Regions from separate parts of the Homo sapiens genome. Here all the other regions are linked to region 3. Evidence: promoter capture Hi-C in 16 types of primary human blood cells and fetal thymus (Javierre and others, 2016). All regions are on one chromosome and are shown on one strand. The core of a region is centred on a gene start or on the middle of the fragment in contact, and the rest is flanking DNA. Distances in the headings are between cores, read along the strand shown. Region 1 overlaps ASH1L (ASH1 like histone lysine methyltransferase). Region 2 overlaps ASH1L (ASH1 like histone lysine methyltransferase). Region 3 holds the start of FDPS (farnesyl diphosphate synthase).

The links. Contacts are between HindIII fragments. The CHiCAGO score rates a contact against its expected background, and 5 or more counts as called.
Region 1: a fragment that was not itself captured here is called in contact with the fragment with the promoter of FDPS in region 3 in 1 of 17 cell types (endothelial precursors); the score reaches 5.2 in endothelial precursors.
Region 2: a contact is called between a fragment that was not itself captured here and the fragment with the promoter of FDPS in region 3, in 1 of 17 cell types (endothelial precursors). The highest score is 6.5, in endothelial precursors.

The regions. Positions count from the first base shown.
Region 1 is chr1:155,500,160-155,504,005 of GRCh38, reverse strand. All of the region lies in intron 2 of ASH1L (ASH1 like histone lysine methyltransferase), which reads left to right. Among named protein-coding and RNA genes, the nearest start is that of ASH1L-AS1, 60 kb to the left of the region's middle. RefSeq lists enhancers at 3,641-3,810, 3,491-3,846. The HindIII fragment of the contact is 3,787 bases long and covers 611-3,846 here.
Region 2 is chr1:155,537,391-155,541,189 of GRCh38, reverse strand. The region is part of intron 1 of ASH1L (ASH1 like histone lysine methyltransferase); the gene reads left to right. Among named protein-coding and RNA genes, the nearest start is that of ASH1L-AS1, 23 kb to the left of the region's middle. RefSeq lists a silencer at 320-369. The HindIII fragment of the contact is 4,484 bases long and covers 1-3,799 here.
Region 3 is chr1:155,306,771-155,310,440 of GRCh38, reverse strand. FDPS (farnesyl diphosphate synthase) reads right to left here and starts at 1,575. Exons shown (of 11, transcript NM_002004.4): 1 at 1,476-1,575; 2 at 476-652; 3 at 236-398. The coding sequence starts at 651. It also overlaps a transcript of PKLR not described here. RefSeq lists enhancers at 1,216-1,385, 1,716-1,845, 2,748-2,817. The HindIII fragment of the contact is 5,584 bases long and covers 131-3,670 here.

The DNA.
Region 1 (3,846 bases), core at 1,255-3,754, 190 kb before region 3:
CCCACCTGTAATCCTAGCACTTAGGGAGGCCAGGGTGGGTGGGTGGCTTGAGCTCAGGAGTTCAAGACCAGTCTGGCAACATGGTGAAACCCCCCTGTACAAAAAATACAAATGTTAGCCAGGCATGGTGGCTTACACCTGTTGTCCCAGCTACTCAGGATGCTGAGGCAGGAGGATCACTTGAGCACAGGAGGTCGAGGCTGCAGTAAGTTGTGTTCATGCCACTGTACTGCAGCCTAGGTGATAGAGAGATGAAGTGGAATATATGATTGGATAAGGACTTACAGGGAAGAGGGTGGTAGTTTACATATTAACTGTGGCTTCCCTGGAACTGCTTAATGTAAATACGGATCTTTCTATAATCTGGATTATGCATACTAATGCTTTAGTTTCTCTAAAATCAATGACCTAAATTGAGAGAATACTGATTATTAAAAGAAGATAATGTCAACAAAGATGTCAGAAATGTTATTAAGGTGAAATTGTAACCAGAACTCACTTTTGAAACAAAACAGGTACTGAACTAGTGTTTATTTTTTAACAGCCAAGTCCTAATTTACTATGTATATTTTACTTTTATTTTTGGAAAACATATCAAAGTATACAAGCTTGCAATAAAAAGTTCTACTATATTAGGAAGTCAGAGTTTAGGAGGTACACAAAGGCATTTTGACAAAAATGCACAGATGGTAGATACACTAGAATATTTTAGCTGTATTGAGTGAAGCTACATTGAATTACTAACATCTGAGGATATATATGAAGGCACAAAAATGATCCTAACATCTTTCTGTAGGATTTGATAGTAACTCTCACAGTAAAAACAGTGAAACAAAATGGCACCTGCTTCTCAGCCTCACTTTTTCATTTCTTAGCAAAATTACTGAGTGTGATTATTGTGTAGTTCCTTGCCTAGTCTTTGATTTTACGGGCTGGGGGCTCCAAAAGATTGCTGAGGAGATCAAAAGCAGATGCTGAAAATTATAAGCCAAGGCAGGGGAGCTTGGTAACCTTTCTTTCTAAGCTGTTTGTTGATTATAACGGTTAGGGCAATTATGAAGGTTAGGAATTATGAAATATGGAAATTCTCCTAAGCATACTTGGTAACTCTTAAAAATTCTATTTGTCTCAACCTCGATAACTAAAATTACCTAAGATAAATGAGAAAAATTAGAAAAGCAAATTTAATCACTAAATTTCTAAATAAAAAGCAAAAAGGATAAAAAAGTTTCACTGTGCAAGGAGAAAGGAAGGAGGATGAGGGAATGGAAAGACTCAGCTTAGACATCCCCCAATTCTGTGAAACGTTCCCTGAACCTTTCTAGGAGGTTACTCTATCCTCTGTGTTTCCATTGCATATATTTCTGTTTTTAACATATAGCACATTGTATAATAATTATTAATTGATTTCTCTATTTCTTTGGCTCCTTCAGTGTCAGGGTGATCTTTTAAGTTTGTGCTTTTTATGAGCAACACAGAAAATGCTTTAAAAACAGTTCAGTAAGACTGAAGAAAAGATCTGTAAGCATAAAACAAATACCATCATCATTACCAAAAATTCAGTGCTTAAAATATAGCTTGAGAATGTGAGTATTTATTTCCTTATTCCTAAGATTTTGCTTTTGAATACACTATCTGCCGGGCGCGGTGGCTCATGCCTGTAATCCCAGCACTTTGGGAGGCCAAGGCGGGCGAATCACAAGATCAAGAGATCGAGACTATCCTGGCCAACATGGTGAAACCCCATTTCTACTAAAAATACAAAAAATTAGCTGGGTGTGGTGGTGCGTGCCTATAATCTCAGCTACTCGGGAGGCTGAGGCAGAAGAGTTGCTTGAACCCGGGAGGCGGAGGTTGCAGTGAGCCAAGATCGCGCCATTGCACTCCAACCCGGATGACAGTGTGAGACTCTGTCTCAAAAAAAAAAAAAAAAAGAAAAGAAAAGAAAAGAAAACTGTCATAACTGTATTACTCAAATATTTCCTCTTCTCTCATTTGCTAAAAATATATAGTAAAACTTTCATGCCTATTTAAAACAATCTCTAGGCCGAGTGCAGTGGCTCATGCCTGTAATCCCAGCATTTTGGGAGGTTGAGGCAGGCGGATCATGAGGTCAATAGATCGAGACCATCCTGGCCAACATGGTGAAACCCCGTTTCTACTAAAAATACAAAAGTTAGCTGGGCATGGTGGCGTGTGCCTGTAGTCTCAGCTACTTGGGAGGCTGAGGCAGGAGAATCGCTTGAACCCGGGAGGTGGAGGTTGCAGTGAGCCGAGATTGCGCCACTGCGCTTCAGCCTGGTGACAGAGCGAGACTCTGTCTCAAAAAAATGAATGAATAAAACAATCTGTAGATTGCTATTTTTAAGAAATTGCGGATGCCAAGGTGGGCAGATCACCCGCGGTCAGGAGTTCAAGACCAGCCTAGTCAACATGGCAAAACCTGGTCTCTACTAAAAATATAAAAATTAGCCAGGAATGGTGACACCCACCTGTAGTCCCAGCTACTTGGAGGGATGGAGTACGATAATCACTTGAAACCGGGAGGTGGAGATTGCAGTGAGCTGAGATTGTGCTACTGCACTCCAGCCTAGGTGATAGAGTGAGACAATATGTAATAAATAATTAGGAACATCTGAAAGTAATCTTAGTTTAAGAAAACATTTTGAAGTTGGGCATGGTGGCTTAGGCTTGTAATCCCAGTTACTCAGAAGACTTGAGGCAGGAGGATTGCTTGAGGCCAGGAGTTTAAATCCATCCTTGGCAACGTAACAAGACCCCATTTCTGATTTTAAAAATAAGGAAGAAAGACAAAACATTTTTAGATGTCAAACACCTTTTGAAAGAGTTTAACACATCTTAATGACTTACCCCAAATAGGTGGTACCATATGAACCCAAGTCAAACAATTTTATTATTAATACTATGGGGTATTGTGTTTTTCCAATTGCCTTTTGTTTTGTTTTTATTTTTTAAACCAATTCTTTGTGTTTAGGCTCCTTAGCTCTTTTTTTTTAAATATAGTTTCTTTTTATTTAGAGACAGAGTCTCATTCTGTCGCCCAGGCTGGAGTGCAGTGGTGCAATATCAGCTCATTGCAACCTCTGCCTCCCAGGTTCAAGCGATTCTCATGCCTCAGTCTCCTGAGTAGCTGAGATTACAGGCATGTGCCACCATGTTCGGCTAATTTTGTATTTTTAGTAGAGACAGGGTTTCGCCATGTTGACCAGTTTGGTATCAAACTCCTGGCCTCAAGTGATCTGCACGCCTAGGCCTCCCAAAATTCTGGGATTACAGGTGTGAGACACCACGCCCAGTCTAGGCTCCTCAGCTCTTACCAGAGAATTTGGGACTTGTTAATAGGAGAAGATAGGCACATTCTGTCATCTTACTTGTGCCCTATGGGCTGCGTGCCATCTCAGAGTGCTTTTTTTTTTCCTTATGCCTATTTATGAAGAGGTCCAGAATGCATGTCTACATTATTTGACTGCTGCGTTTTCACTTCCATGTTCTTGTTGACAAATGCTATTCAAGCAAGAAGACCCGATTGTATGTAGGTATCTCTGAGTCTTGCTATGATGGATTCTGTAGTCTTACCTTCATCTTGATTGTTTACTTTAAAAGCTGCTTAAGCTAGAGGTATTTTTATGGTAGAGAAGAGAACAGTTGGCACAGAGCCCAGCTTCTCCATGGCAGCAGCAATTATGCAAATTATCCTGGATCTTTACATTTCAGTAAAACCTTTCTTCCCCCTTTACATACACAAAATAGACAGCTAAGGGGCTGTGATCTGTCCTAAAGCCTTGGAGATAAAACAGGATGTCACTCTTTTCTCAAAATGACTTC
Region 2 (3,799 bases), core at 448-2,947, 230 kb before region 3:
TTTGCTAAGGATGTAGCAGTGAATACAGCAAACAGGATTTTTATTCTCATGTAATGCATGGTCTAGTGGAAGATATGGATATTAAATAACTTAATTGGTATAATGCATATTAAGAGACTTATAGTATGGATATGCACTTAGCAGGGTGATCTGCCAGACTCAAGCCATCCTCCCGCCTCAGCCTCCCAAGTCTAGGGGAATAGGAAATGTCTCCCCGAGGGAATGACTTTTAAACTAAGATGGAAAGGAAGAGAAGTAGTCATATGGAAAGATGCTGGAAGAGAGTTCCAGGCAGAGAGAACTAACTGTATGTTCTAAAGGAGGGAAAACAGTTATTTGGGAACTGAAAAGTGCTTCAAACACATGTATCACAGATGTATGAGTGTTTGCTTTTTTGTTGTTTCCTGTTGTTGTTGTTGTTAAGACAGGGTCTCGTGTTGTCACTCAGGCTGGAGTGCAGTGGTGTGATCTTAGCTCGCTGCAGCCTTGACTTCCCAGGCTCAAGCGATCCTCCCACCTCAGCCTCCCAAGTAGCTGGGACTATGGGCATGAGCCACCATATCCAGCTAATTTTTGCATTTTTTGTAGAGATGGGGTTTTGCTGTGTTGCCAGGCTGATCTCAAACTCTTAGACTCAAGCAGTCTGCCTGCCTTGGCCTCCCAAAGTGCTGGGATTACAGGTTTGAGTAACTGCACCCAGCTGAGTGCTTGCTTTTTTTTGGTGGTGGTTATTTGCTCTTGCTCTGCTCACAACAGTGTGGGGAATGGTGAGGCCAGAGATATGTAGGGGCAGTTAACAACAACAAAAAGTAAACAGTGATACTGTGAAGTGCTGTTCTAAGTACTTTTCATATATTAGTTTATTGAACCCTTACAACAATTTCTATTCACATTTGAGAGAACTGAGGCCGTGAGTACTTTGCACAAAATTAATATAGCAGGACTAGCTTCTGAGACTGTGTTTTGGCTTCAGAGACTATATTCTTAACCACCAAACCATGCTGCAGATTGTAAGTTGCAAGTTATGAGTGTGATTAGGGACTTTTATATATGAAGGGCAGTGAGAAAACATTCAAAGATTTTAAGCAGGGAAATTACATTATCAGAATTTTTTTTTTTTTTGAGACAAGGTCTTGCTCTGTCACCCAGGCTGGAGTCAGTGGTGCAATCATAGCTCACTGTAGCCTTGACCTCCTGGGCTCAAGGAATCCTCCCACCTCAGCTTCCTGAGTAGCTGGTACTACAGGTGGGTGTGCCACAACACCTAGCTGATTTTTTATTTTATTTTTTATTTTTAGTGGAGATGAGGTCTTGCTGTGTTGCCCAGGCTGGTCTCAAAATCCTGGGCTCAAGCGATCGTCCTGCCTTGGCCTCAAGCGATCTTCCTGCCTTGGCCTCAATGTGCTGGGATTACAGGCATGAGCCACTGGGCCTTTGAGAAAAACAATCTCTAGTGGCTCACGCCTGCATTCCCAGCACTTTGGGAGGCCGAGGCTGGAAGATCGTTTGAGCCCAGGAGTTCGAGACCAGCCTGGGCAACATAGCAAGATGCTGTCTCTACAAAAATAAAAAATTGGCTGGGCATGGTTGGTGTGTGCCTGTAGTCCCAGCTACTCAGGAGGCTAAGGCTGCTTGGGCCCAGGAGGTTGGGACTGCAGTGAACTATGATCGTGCCACTGCTCTCCAGCCTGGGTGACAGAGCAAGATTTTTTCTCAAAGAACAAGAACAAAATATATATATATATATAAAATAAAACACCTTTCTGGATGTAGCTTGGGCTGGAGGAGAGCAAGGTAGATGTACAAAGAAGTTAGAGGGCTGTTGCTATATTCTGGGTGAGAATTGTTGGTTTTTTTGGACAAGTCAGTGGGAGAATTGGAGAGGAACTCTATGTAATCACAGATTATTTATGTGACATTCAGAAGTTTTGGTGTTAGGTTGAAGGTTGACAATAAGGGAGTGAGAATAGTCAGGATGAGTGCCACTGCACTCCAGCCTGGGTGACAGAGTGAGACTCCATCTCAAAAAATAAAAAATAAAAATTAAAAAATTAAAAAGATACCAAAAGATTTTAGAGAAGCAAAAGACTGACTGAACCTAAAGAATTCCAACATCTGGGAGTCTGGTAGGCCAAATCAGATCTGCAGATAAGACTCAGGAGTGGCTTCCAGAGAGGTGGCAGGAATGTGTACTATCATAGTAACCTGTAGTAGTTTGACTAGTAGTAGCTCTGACTTGAGCAATTGGTGGTACTGAAATGGGAAAGATTGGAGGAGGATTAAACTTTGTAAAGATATTGAACCAGGTTTCAGATATACTGTCTGGAGCTTAAAAGTCTTAAGTAGTATAATAAATTACACAGGGAAAGAATCTAGAGTAGGAGCCAGGTGCAGTGGCACATGCCTATGGTCCCTATTACTTGGGAAGCTGAGGTGGGAGGATCCCTTGAGCACAGGAGTTGGAGGCTGCAGTAAGCTATTATTATGCCACTGTACCCCAGGCCAGATGATAGAGCCGTCTTTATTAAAAAAAAAAAAAAAAAAAAAAGGCTGGGTACAGTGGTTCACACCTGTAATCCCAGCACTTTGGAAGGCCGAGGCGGGCAGATCACGAGGTCAGGAGTTCAATATAGTGAAACCTTGTCTCTACTGAAAATATAAAAAATTAGCCGGATGTGGTGGTGCGTTCCTGTAGTCCCGGCTACTCGGGAGGCTGAGGCAGGAGACTCGCTTGAACCCAGAAGGCAGAGGTTGCAGTGAGCCGAGATTGCGCCATTGCATTCCAGCCTGGGTGACAGAGTGAGACTCCATCTCAAAAACAAACAAACAAACAAACAAACAAAAAAACGCCAGGTGCCATAGCTCATGCCTGTAATCCCAGCACTTTGGGAGGCTGAGGTGGACAGATCACTTGAGGTCAGACGTTCAAGACCAACCTGGCCAAAATGGTGAAACCCCATCTCCAAAATGCAAAATATAAGTACTAAAGATACAAAAATTAGCCTGGCCTGGTGATGCGCACCTGTAGTCCCAGCCACTTTGGAGGCTGAGACAGGAGACTCACTTGAACCCAGGATGCAGAGGTTGCAGTGAGCCAAGATGGTGCCACAGCACTCCAGCCTGGGTGACAGAGTGAGACTCCATCTCCAAAAATAAAAATAAAAAATAAATAAAAATTAAAAAATTTAAAAAATGCCAAAATATTTTAGAGAAAGAAAAGACTGACTGAACCTAAGGAATTCCAACATCTGGAAGTCTGGTAGGCCAAATCAGATCAGCAGATAAGACTCAGGAGTGGCTTCCAGAGAGGTGGCAGGAATGTGTACTATCACAGTAACCTGTAGTAGTTTGTGTCTTGTGTTCATTTTCTTAGTACTGCCTTTTTGAAGGACAGAAGTTTATAGTTTTGGTGAAGTTCAGTTTACCAGCTTTTTTTAAAAAAAAAAAATCATGCTGTCATATCTAAGAAATTTTGCCTAACCCAAAGTCACAAAGATTTCCTTCTACATTTTCTTTTAGGAATTTTATAGTTCGTTTTCGAATTTAGATTTGTGATCCACTTGAGTTAATTTTTGTGTATGATGTGAGGTAAGGGTCTGAGTTCTTTTCTTGCAGATGGATATCCTGTAGTAGATTTGGAGTGAGAAGATTACATTCAATCCAAGTTCTTCTATTTACTAATTTTACAGTCTTAGAGTTAATCACGTTTCGAAGCCTGTTTGCCCATCTATAAAATGTGATTAGTTAAATCTAATAAGATTATTGTCAGAATGAAACAAATGAGACAATAAGTGAAACC
Region 3 (3,670 bases), core at 326-2,825:
TACTCAGAAGGCTGAGGCAGGAGAATCACTTGAACCCAGGAGGTGGAGGTTGCAGCAAGCCGAGATCACACCATCGCACTCCAGCCCAGGTGACAGAGCAAGGCTCTGTCTCAAAAAAAAAAAAAAAGCTTTCTCTCACATCTGTCAAAAGTCCCCCATAAGCCACAGGTGAATGCCACACAGGTACAGAGCAACTGAACCAAAGCCTTACTCCCCCAAGTCATGAATCCCTCACCTCCTTGAGCCGGGCAATAGCATCTCCTATCTCTGGGTGCCCCATCTCATCCTCAGTCAGCACCCTAACGATCTGGGAGAAGTGCTGAACGAAATCCTGCTTTTCTTGGGCATAAACATCTGAATTCTGGTCTCCGTTCATTCTGAGGGAGGAGCAAAGGGCTCTAAGTAGAAGAAAAACAAGTCAGAAACCTGATCAGCTGCTCCCCTCCCCAAGGCCCCTCACCCCAACCACACTCACCGAGGTTCCTCTGTCCACGCTTGGCACCAGCAGCGGGCACTGTGCCAGGCCAGGACTGGGTACCCGTGCACCAGGGAGGGCCGCCGTAGGGAACCCAGCCACCTCTCCCGGGGTGCCCAGTAGGGGGCTGGCAGCAGGAAGACCCCCACAGATCTCAACCAGCGGGACAGGGGCATCCTGGGAGTGGCATAGGGAGGGGGCACTAAGCACTCCCTGCAGGGGCAAGCACCAAAGGCAGAGGCATGGTGGCAGCTCCCCAGATAACTCCCACCCCAGCCTTAGCCCAGAGTGCCCCTCCCTCTTGTGGAATGTGCTTGGGGACAATTACAGGAAGGATACGCAGGGAACAAAAAAGTATGGCTGGGTGACTGAGACCCAACTAATCACCACTTACAATAAACAGGCTAGAACTCAGTGCCTTCAAGATGGCGTGCACAAGGCTGGGTAAGGAGGCGGTACAGAGTAAAGTACCCCAGGATTAGGGGCTGAAAGGACCCTTAAGTCATCCTATTTTACACAAGCCAAACTGAGGCTCTAGGAGGTAGGAAGATAGTAGAGGCAGAGCCAAATCTAGAACCCAGGTCTCCCCTGGGCAGTGGAGAGGGGTGCCCAGGGTCTGAGTTACGCCCCAAGGAGGAAAGAAGCATTGGAGCGAGAACCCATGGGTGCTGCATCCATATGGTCCGGGGTGCTTGAACCGCGCGTCCCAAGCCCCACAGGAATCGCTAGGACTGAGCAGATAGGCTCGGAGCAACTCTGGACGGGAGAGAAGGGCTCGCAGCAAAGGAGTAAACCGGGGTCCGGGCATATTGGGGATTCCAGGAAAGCACAAGGGCAGAGTTGGGAAGTCTCCACACCCCTAGAAGGCCAGCCAGTCTAGCCCACCGACCTTCAAAACGGACACAACAGGCTGGCCTTCCGATGCCTCACAGTATCGTTACAGAAGTAAGGCCCGGTCTCGGCCCCCTTCCTCCAAGGCCCAGCACACATCCTCTCTCACCTGTTCCCAGATACGGATTCCTGCTCGGTCCCGCTTGTTGGCGGGTACTCCTAAAAGCAGAATCCGCTCCGCGATCGGCTCTGTGGGTCGAGTAGTTCCCGCTCTCCCCACACTAAGGGCGGAAATATATAATTAGACTACAACTCCCAATGTGCCCGCGGGAGGGACAGATAACGCGATCCTGCGTGTCCTGGCTGGGCGAAGATGAGCCGCGCTGATTGGCTGCTGGCCGTCGTGTGAGCATGGCGCACTGTGGCACTGTGACGGACGACCAATGGAAGGGCTGAAGTCTAGAGGTCGCGGCTGGAGGCGTCAGTGCCGGAAGCGAGCCAGGCTGGGAACGTCCCCGCTGTGGCTTTGGCTGCCTGTCTTACTCAAGTTTTCATTATCTTCCTGGGCAGCTGATTGGCACGTTAGTAAAACGCAGCAGGACTAGCTTTCTCACTTATTAGTTCTCTAACTTTAGGCAAATCATTTAACGTCTCTGATCCTCAGTGAACTTGCTTGAAACTAGCTTTCCTCATCTGTTGAATGAGGGTGGTAATACCATGAGGTAATGTGTGCAAAGTGCTTTAAGGGCTTAAGAAAGATGAGTCTTGGGCCGGGCACGGTGGCTCACGCCTGTAATCCCAGCACTTTGGGAGGCCGAGGCGGGTGGATCATGAGGTCAGGAGTTCGAGACCAGCCTGACCAATGTGGTGAAACCCCGTCTCTACTAAAAATACAAAAAAAAAAAATTAGTCGGGCGTGGTGGCGCGCGCCTGTAATCCCAGCCACTCAGGAGGGCTGAGGCGGGAGAATCGCTTGAACTCGTAAGGCAGAGGTTGCAGTGAGCTGAGATCCAGCGAACCACTGCACTCTAGCTGGGGAGACAGAGCAAGACTCCGTCTCAAAAAAAAAAAAAAAAAAAGATGAGTCTCACACTTGTAATTCCAGCACTTTGGGCGGATCACCTGCGGTCAGGAATCTGAGACCAGCCTGGTCAACATGGCAAAACCCCTTCTCTACTAAAAATACAAAAATTACCCAGGTGTGCTGGTCCGCGCCTTAATTCCAGCTACGTGGGAGGCTGCAACCTCGCTTCCCGGGTTCAAGTGATTCTCCTGGATTACAGGTGCCTGCCAGCATGCCCAGCTAATTTTTGTGTTTTTAGTAGAGAGGGGGTTTCTCCAGATTGGCCAGCCTGGTCTCGAACTCCTGACCTCAAGTGATCCAGCCACCTCGACCTCTGAAAGTGCTGGGATTACAAGTACGAGCCACTTGGCCCAGGCAGTTATTTATTGATTATAAGCTAAACAAGGGTTGGATTATTCATGCCTCTGCTTTGTAGACCATATACAGTTAACTCCCTGATGTCGACACAGCATGTGGTAGGAGTATAGCGTTGAAGACCACCAGAGGTCACTCTTGTTGCCATCTTGGTTTTGGTAGGTTTTGGCCAGTTTCTTTACTGCAATCTGTTTTATCAGCAAGGTCTTTATGACCTGTATCTTGAGCCAATCTCCTATCTCATCCTGTGACTTAGAATGCCTAAACCAACTGGAAATGCAGTCCAGTAGGTCTCAGCCTTATTCTACCCAGTCCCTATTCAAGATGGAGTTGCTCTGGTTCACGCACCTCTGACAATTATGCTAAGTGAAATAAGCCAGACTCAAAAGGACAGATACTGTATGATTCCGTGTATATAAGGTACTGTCACCGGTGGAGGGTGTCCAGGTTCTTGGCATCTTGAACAAAGAATTGGACAAAACACGGCTGGGTGCAGTGGCTCACGCCTGTAATCCCAGAGCTTTGGGAGGCCAAGGTGGGCGGATCACGAGGTCAGGAGTTCAAGACCAGCCTGGCCAACATAGTGAAACCCCATCTCTACTAAAAAATCCAAAATTAGCCCAGCATGGTGGCGCACACCTGTAGTGCCAGCTACTCGAGAAGCTGAGGCAGGAGAATCGCTTGAACCCGGGAGGCAGAGGTTGTGGTGAACCGAGATCGCTCCGGGAGGAATGAAACAGGAGGAATGAACAACTCCAGATGCGCGGCCTTAACAGCTGTAACACTCACCGCGAAGGTCTGCAGCTTCACTCATGAGCCAGCAAGACCACGAACCCACCAGAAGGAAAAAACTCCGAACACATCTGAACATCAGAAGGAACAAACTCCGGACACACCACCTTTAAGAACTGTAACACTCACTGCGA